Linked DNA regions of Homo sapiens: region 2 is linked to region 1. Evidence: promoter capture Hi-C in human tissues and cell types (Jung and others, 2019). All regions are on one chromosome and are shown on one strand. Each heading gives the region's core, a stretch centred on a gene start or on the middle of the fragment in contact. The rest is flanking DNA. Distances are from core to core; before and after follow the strand shown.

Region 1 (3,259 bases), core at 416-2,915:
GCATTCAGGAAACTCAGATGCTGGGGTTTGAGACCAAAAACTGGCCTTCCTTTTCGACCAATAGTTCCGACTATTTCTGGGTAAGTGGACAGGGGATCCCAGCTGCCTTCCAGCTTTCAGACTGGAGTGACAACAATTTAAGAGCTGTAAAAATTGGGAATGGGGTTCAAGACCATTTCTGATGGTATTTCCAGATAGAGAATCTCTTTCTCTGGCTGGCTGGAAAAGACCAACCTAATGTGTGGGCAAGTGGGTGAAACAGGTCTCTCTCTGGCTGAGCCCTGGGAATGATCAGAATCACTAGACGTCAAAGCAAATCACTAGACGTCACCCATTACTCTCTTTGACTGCCTCCTCCTCCCCAGTGCTCTTTCTGACCATCTCAGTTAGAACCGAATGAACCTCGCTAAACCCAGACACTTTTCATCCCAAGCCAGGAGTGGTGGAAGAAGCCCCAGGGACTGGGTGAATGACGGAGCCTCAGTTGTGAAACGACCATTTATTGAGGGGCCCTCCATGGAGCCTAGAGCTCACTGCAAGACAGGAAATGAGAGGGGGCTCTGCCACCACCCCCTTACCCCAACGCAGGAAAGAGGATGCAATGAATCCCAACAAGACCAGCTCAAACTTGGCTTTGGAAGCACTGAAGCAATTCTCTACGTTCATAAACAGTCTGCTACCCCAGCCAGGGACAGACGCTTGCTTGGAGGACGGAGCACAAGCAGAGCAGCAGAATGACAGAGTGACAGGATGAGAGAGGCAGAGGGACCCAGAAAGATCCTGTCCCCCATGCCAAGTGACACAGAAGAAAAAAATAATGCTGGAGGTGGCTCTGGGAAATGTTCAGGGGGCAGGATGGGTTTGGAAGGGGGGGCTGTGCTAAGGTGAAGAGGGAAAGGGCAGGAGAAAGATGGCGGGGGCTGGAGGGGGGAGGGGTGTGGTCAGCAAGTGGCCAAGGTCCCTGCGCGGTGGAGGCAGACAGACCTCATCGCATTCCCAAACTGGTAGAAACCTGGGTCGGGGTCAGGCAGAGGATCCCATAGGTGAGAGAGGTGAGTGAGGAAGTGGGGGGATTAGAATCTGGGAAGAGGGGCCAGGAAAGGAGGGGGTAGGCTGGTGACAGGGGCCCATGTGGGGCCCCAGCGGTCATACGTGCCATGGTTGGCAGTGACAGCTGGGGGGGAGCACGGTCTTTGCAGCATGGGGCGGCCCTAGGGGAAGGGGACCCCTACAGGGGGTACTCTGCGGGCCCGCGGGCCCCAGCCTTGGACAGGCCGGGGCAAGGGGCGCTGGGGGGTAGGCAGAGAGGATGAGGGGCCCCGTAGGGGGAGGGGCCAGGCGATGATGGACAAGGCCAGGGCTGGCAGCGCAGGGCCAAGATCGGGGTCACAGCCCGGGCACTCACCGCTCTCCTGCTCGCTGCCCTTCTTGGCGGCGGCGGCGTTGCCCATCGCGGCGGCGGCGGCCGGGGCCGGTCCCGGAGCTGCGGCGCGGCGGGTGCTGGCTGCGGCCGGCGGCCCCGGAGCGCGCTGGGCGGCGGCGGCGGCGGCCCTCGGGCTGGCTGCGCTAGCTGCGGCGCCGCGACCCCCGCCCAGCCCCTGCTTCCCGCGTCTCTCCGCGCCCGCCCGCCCGGGAACCTCAGCCCAAGATCTCTGCCGCTGTCTGTGACGCCCCCGCAGCCCGCCGCTCATTGGCCTAGGCCGCCCTGACTGACGGCTCAGCGCCGCCTCCCATTGGCCCTCCCGCGACCTTCCCGCGCCACTATAGGCTCTCAGCCTCGGGACACGCACCGCGGACTCTCGGCCATTCACTCGCTCGCGAGGCCGCAGCTGGGCGGGCAGACGCGTCCGATTGGCCGAGACGCTGGACTGGGCCCGGGGTCCGCCCTGCGAGGCCGCCGATTGGCGGAGGTGCCGGGTCCGCCAAGCCCCCCAGCAGAACGCTCAGTGTCAATCCGGGGGTGAGAGGGCGGGGCGGAGACGCAGTCTGCGGGCCCGGGCCGGCGGGGCGGGGCGGCGGAGGCTGGCTGGCGGCCGCGCAGCGCTCCGAGGCTCAGGAGGCGGCCCCGGCGGGCGCCCGGCCGGCCCCGCGCGCGCCGCAGTCCCCCGCCCCCGCTCAGTGCGGCAGCGGCTGTCGGCCAGCCGGAGTTGGCGCCGCGGCCTGCCCGGCGCAGCCGCTGTCCACCTGCCAGCGGGGGAGGGGCGCGGCCGGCGCGCGGGTCAGAGGTCGCCCGGCCGCCGCCGGCGTCATTCATAAGGCCTGGCGCTGGGCGGCCGAGGCCAGGCCTGCTTGGGGGCCAGGCCGCGGGGCCTCCTGGGTTTTCCCAGCCGCACTCAGGAGGATGCCGGGCCCGGCGCAAGGGGTGGCTGGGAAGGGGCGCTCAGTGTCCACCCCTTTGCTGGGCCCTAGCCCTGGGCTCCTGCCAGTAGTAAGAGCTGGCACCCACTTAACGCTCCTTCGCACCACACTCCCATCGCGTAGGTGCTACCATCATCACTCCCATTGCACAGATGAGGAATCTGGGGTACAGCCAGGCAGATTCCCTGCTCCTGTTCCCCGTCTGTATTTCCTGTCTGGGCAATGCGAAGGGAACCTGCCCCTTCCTTCAGGATCCTCTTTCAGTACACACTTAGCAGAGGACAGTCGGGGTTTCCCAACTGCGACACTACTGACGGTGAGGCTGGATCATTTTCTGCTGGGGGGTGTCTTGTGCACCACTGGGTGTTGAGCAACATCCCCCGCCTCTACCCACTGGATGCCAGTAGCCCCTCCTCTATCTTCCTGCTGGCTGTGGCAACCGCTGTCTCCTGACATTGGTGAATGTGCTCTTGCGGGGCCGAACTGCTCCTGATTGAGAAGCACTTAAGAGAGGGTCAGGGGAGGGGAGAAGCCAGGTCACCCCGACTCGGAAGGGCTAGCTGGGCTTAACTACAAGCCGATCTGCTGCTTCGACTTGAATAGCCTCCACCTTCTCCAGCTGCTGTCTGCCCCCATGTTCCCAGATCAACCACAGTTCCAGGGAGGGAGAGTCAGAGCCTTTCTGTGAACTATGGGGAAATGGCTGACCACTCCGCCTCTGGATGGATAGATACATGGTAAGGTTTAGTAAAATTTAATAAAAGCATTGCTGTTTGTGTGTTGGGATCACGATGTTAATTTCCTGTGGGTCAAGGGCAAAGTCTGAAAAATCACTCATTATAATCTATCTGCAGGACAGCTGGTTTAAGTTTTGACAAAGAAAAACCCCTCCTGGAACCTC
Region 2 (3,259 bases), core at 295-2,794, 2.0 Mb after region 1:
TCGTGGTGGTGTGCACCTGTAGTACCAGCTACCGGGGAGGTTGAGGCAGGAGAATCACTTGAACCCAGGAGGCGGAGGTTGCAGTGAGCTGAGATCGTGCCACTGCACTCCAGCCTTGGTGACAGAGCGAGACTCTCAAAAAAAAAAGTCAGATCCAGGCATGAGCTGGATATGATCACCCTAATCCAGAGTTGGGGGCCCAGGGAGGGAGTTTCAGCCTGGAGGTGACAGAAAAGTCTTCTTGAGCCAACTCTAGACCGGTGTGGTGGGGGGTGACAAAGAGAGGTGATGGGGTCTGTGGTTTGTAATCCATAGGCCTGAGCTTCTCAAACTAGGAGTGATGGGAGGATAGGACTCTTGGGATAAACAGAGGACTGAAAATTTAGGGAAAGTAGGGGACATTTTTATTAAAATGAACATGGCCTATATGCAAAAATTTTAAAGATTTAACCCGAGCCTTCAAAGAAAGTGATCCTGTAGGGGCGAGTCTCTTCTAGCCAAGCTCCCCAAAGCCCAGAAATGAGGGACTAGGTCTGAGCCCTTCAGCCCTTCAGAGTATTTTGGTAAGACAGTCTAAGAACCACTGCCTTGGGCCATAGGGAGCCATAGCAGGTTCTAGGCAGAAAGAGGGCAGGCGTATTTGTTAGAAAGTTTCTCTGACCCCGTGTTGGGGTCAGAACCAGAGGGAGAAAGGCTGGGGACAGGGATGGGCGGAGGGATCCACGCGCAGAGAATGAGATTGCTTAACTCCAGATCATGGTGAGGCTGCACCTCTGAAACTGGAATGTGTGTATTTCTGGAAAACATTTGGAGTCTTCAGTTTCCCAAAAGCTGCCATTGATCTCCCTAGAGTACTGGGGACCCCAATAAGCCCAAAACAGCTGGTCCTCAGGACGAGGGAAAGATGTGAAAATCCCACTATCAGGTAGCATGGATGGCGTGGTGCATGCTATCGCAACCCCTGTTCTACAGATAAGGAAACTGATGCCCAGAGAGAGACGGAGGACTCTTGTGAATATTGGGGGGGACCGCCCCTGCACCTCGGGGACGTGACCCCCCCCCCAGGCTGACCCGTTCCTCGCTCTGTCGTCCCCAGGTGGAGGAGGAGCTGACGCACCTCCAGAAGAAACTAAAAGGGACAGAGGACGAGCTGGATAAATATTCCGAGGACCTGAAGGACGCGCAGGAGAAGCTGGAGCTCACGGAGAAGAAGGCCTCCGACGTACGTGTGCAGGGATGCGGGAGCCCGCGGCGGGGCCAGGCCGGAGCCCCGGGGCCGGGAAGGCGGGGAGAGCCGCAGGGGGAGGAGGAAGAGGAGGAGGAGAAGGCGGCGCCTCCCAGCGCTTTCTCCAAATAAGTCCCGAAAAGGGGCACTTTCCAGCAGCTGTGGCCAGCGGTGCCGACGTCAGGCCCTCCCCCAGCGGTGCTGACGTCGGCGGTCCGGCCGGGTGACCTCATCGCCCCGACGGCAGCCGGCCCGGGGGGCGGGGAGAGGCGGGGGCGGCCCCCGCGCAGGCAAAGGCTTGGGGGGCCGGGGCGCGGCTGTGCAGCTCTCGCCGGAGCCGAGCCCAGCCGAGCGTCCGCCGCTGCCCGTGCGCCTCTGCGCCTCCGCGCCATGGCCGGCCTCAACTCCCTGGAGGCGGTGAAACGCAAGATCCAGGCCCTGCAGCAGCAGGCGGACGAGGCGGAAGACCGCGCGCAGGGCCTGCAGCGGGAGCTGGACGGCGAGCGCGAGCGGCGCGAGAAAGTGAGCGCCCCGGCCTCGGGCCCCGCACCCGCAGCCTCCTCCCCCGCGCGCCCTCCTTTCTTCCCGGCTTCCCGCGCTGCCCGCCCGCGCGCAGTCCTCGGGCCGCCTTTTTACGCCCTCGGACGCCGATCGCCGACCCACATCCCTGCGCCCGCAGCCAGGACCCCCTACTTCCTCCGCCGTCCTCCTTCCTGGGCCTGGGACAGGGGAGGGGGCGCCGCCTCCGGGTCGGGCGGGGCCGGCCAAGCGGGAAATGGGGGGATGGGGCGGAGGGGGTGAGCGATCTCCGGGTGGAGAAGTGGAGCGGCGGGAGGGGGCGTATCGTGCAGGCTCCGACTCCGGGGCTGGCGCCGGGGTCCCGGGCCGAGGGGAACCCGCGACCGGACTTGTGGGGGAGAATGAGGATGAAAACGTGGAGCTTCCATTGTCTAGGGTTTGACCGGCCGACAGGGATTTCGACGGGGGACCGGGGATCTGGGGAGGGGGTCGCACTTTCTCGCCTCTTTCGCGGCTTCCCGGCTTCTGCTTGCTTCCCTGACCGTTCCCAGGGGCGCGGCGGCGACGTGTCTGCTCCAGGCGGCGGGGGGGATGGGGGGTGGAGGAAGTTCAGCCCCAAGCCGCCCGCCTTTCTCCAGCTGATTCCTGCGGGAACCGGGGCGGCGGGACCCTGCCTCTCTCCAGAAGGCCCCGGGAACGCTGGCGCGGGGCCCTGAACCCACGATCGTTTGAGCGCCTGCTGTGCGCCTCCGCCGCGAGTCGCAGGGCCCGAGATAAACAATGGGTCTGAAAAAGGAGGGAGTTTCACCATCCTCTCTGCATCATCCTCCTGGCTGTCCCTCGGGACAGATGGTGGCACCGCCAGGGTCTGGGGACAGATTTGGATTCTGGTCCCATATCATGCCACCCACAGGCTTCATGACTTGGTATTTGCTCTCTAGGAGCTTTTTTCCCATCTGCGAGTAGGACTGATAAGAATCCCGACCCCCCAGAGTAGCAGGGAGGGTCCCAGGAGTAAATCTCAGGCGTGGAGCCTGGCGCTTTGTAAATAATCAATTGTGTTGTTGTTTTTTGTTGTTTTGTTTTTGAGGCAGTCTCACTCTGTCGCCCAGGCTGGAGTGCAGTGGTGCGATCTCGGCTCGCTGCAACCTCCACCCCCCGAGTTCAAGAGATTCTCCTGCTTCAGCCTCCCGAGTAGCTGGGATTACAGGTGCCCGCCACCACGCCCAGCTAATTTTTTTTTTTTTATTTTGGATTTTTAGTAGAGACAGTGTCTCACCATGCTGGCCAGGCTGGTCTCGAACTCCTGACCTCGTGATCTGCCCACCTTGGCCTCCCAAAGTTCTGGGATTACAAGCGTGAGCCACGGCGCCCAGCCTCAATTGTGTTTTCTCTGCCCTGGGAAGAGCTCATAGACAAATGGAGGCAGGGGAGCTGACTCACTGATGGAGCGAGGTCTGCATTCCACGGGTTTTCTGTGCAGTTATGGGAGCATGACAGGGGAGGCTCCAAAAT

The links. The method cuts DNA at HindIII sites, captures the fragments that hold promoters and counts their contacts. A contact is called where the count stands out against the background at its distance.
Region 2: a contact is called between the fragment with the promoter of TPM4 here and the fragment with the promoter of PRKACA in region 1, in 1 of the 25 tissues and cell types used here (lymphoblastoid cells).

The regions. Positions count from the first base shown.
Region 1 is chr19:14,116,097-14,119,355 of GRCh38, forward strand. PRKACA (protein kinase cAMP-activated catalytic subunit alpha) reads right to left here and starts at 1,666. Exons shown (of 10, transcript NM_002730.4): 1 at 1,406-1,666. The coding sequence starts at 1,451. It overlaps LOC124904642 (a long non-coding RNA gene), which reads left to right and starts at 2,118. Exons shown (of 2, transcript XR_007067144.1): 1 at 2,118-3,095; 2 at 3,213-3,259. RefSeq lists silencers at 1,247-1,316, 1,727-2,286. The HindIII fragment of the contact is 9,947 bases long and covers 281-3,259 here.
Region 2 is chr19:16,074,951-16,078,209 of GRCh38, forward strand. It overlaps TPM4 (tropomyosin 4), which reads left to right and starts at 1,545. Exons shown (of 8, transcript NM_003290.3): 1 at 1,545-1,747. The coding sequence starts at 1,616. RefSeq lists enhancers at 429-1,158, 1,159-1,886, 1,887-2,616 and a silencer at 1,195-2,104. The HindIII fragment of the contact is 17,695 bases long and covers 1-3,259 here.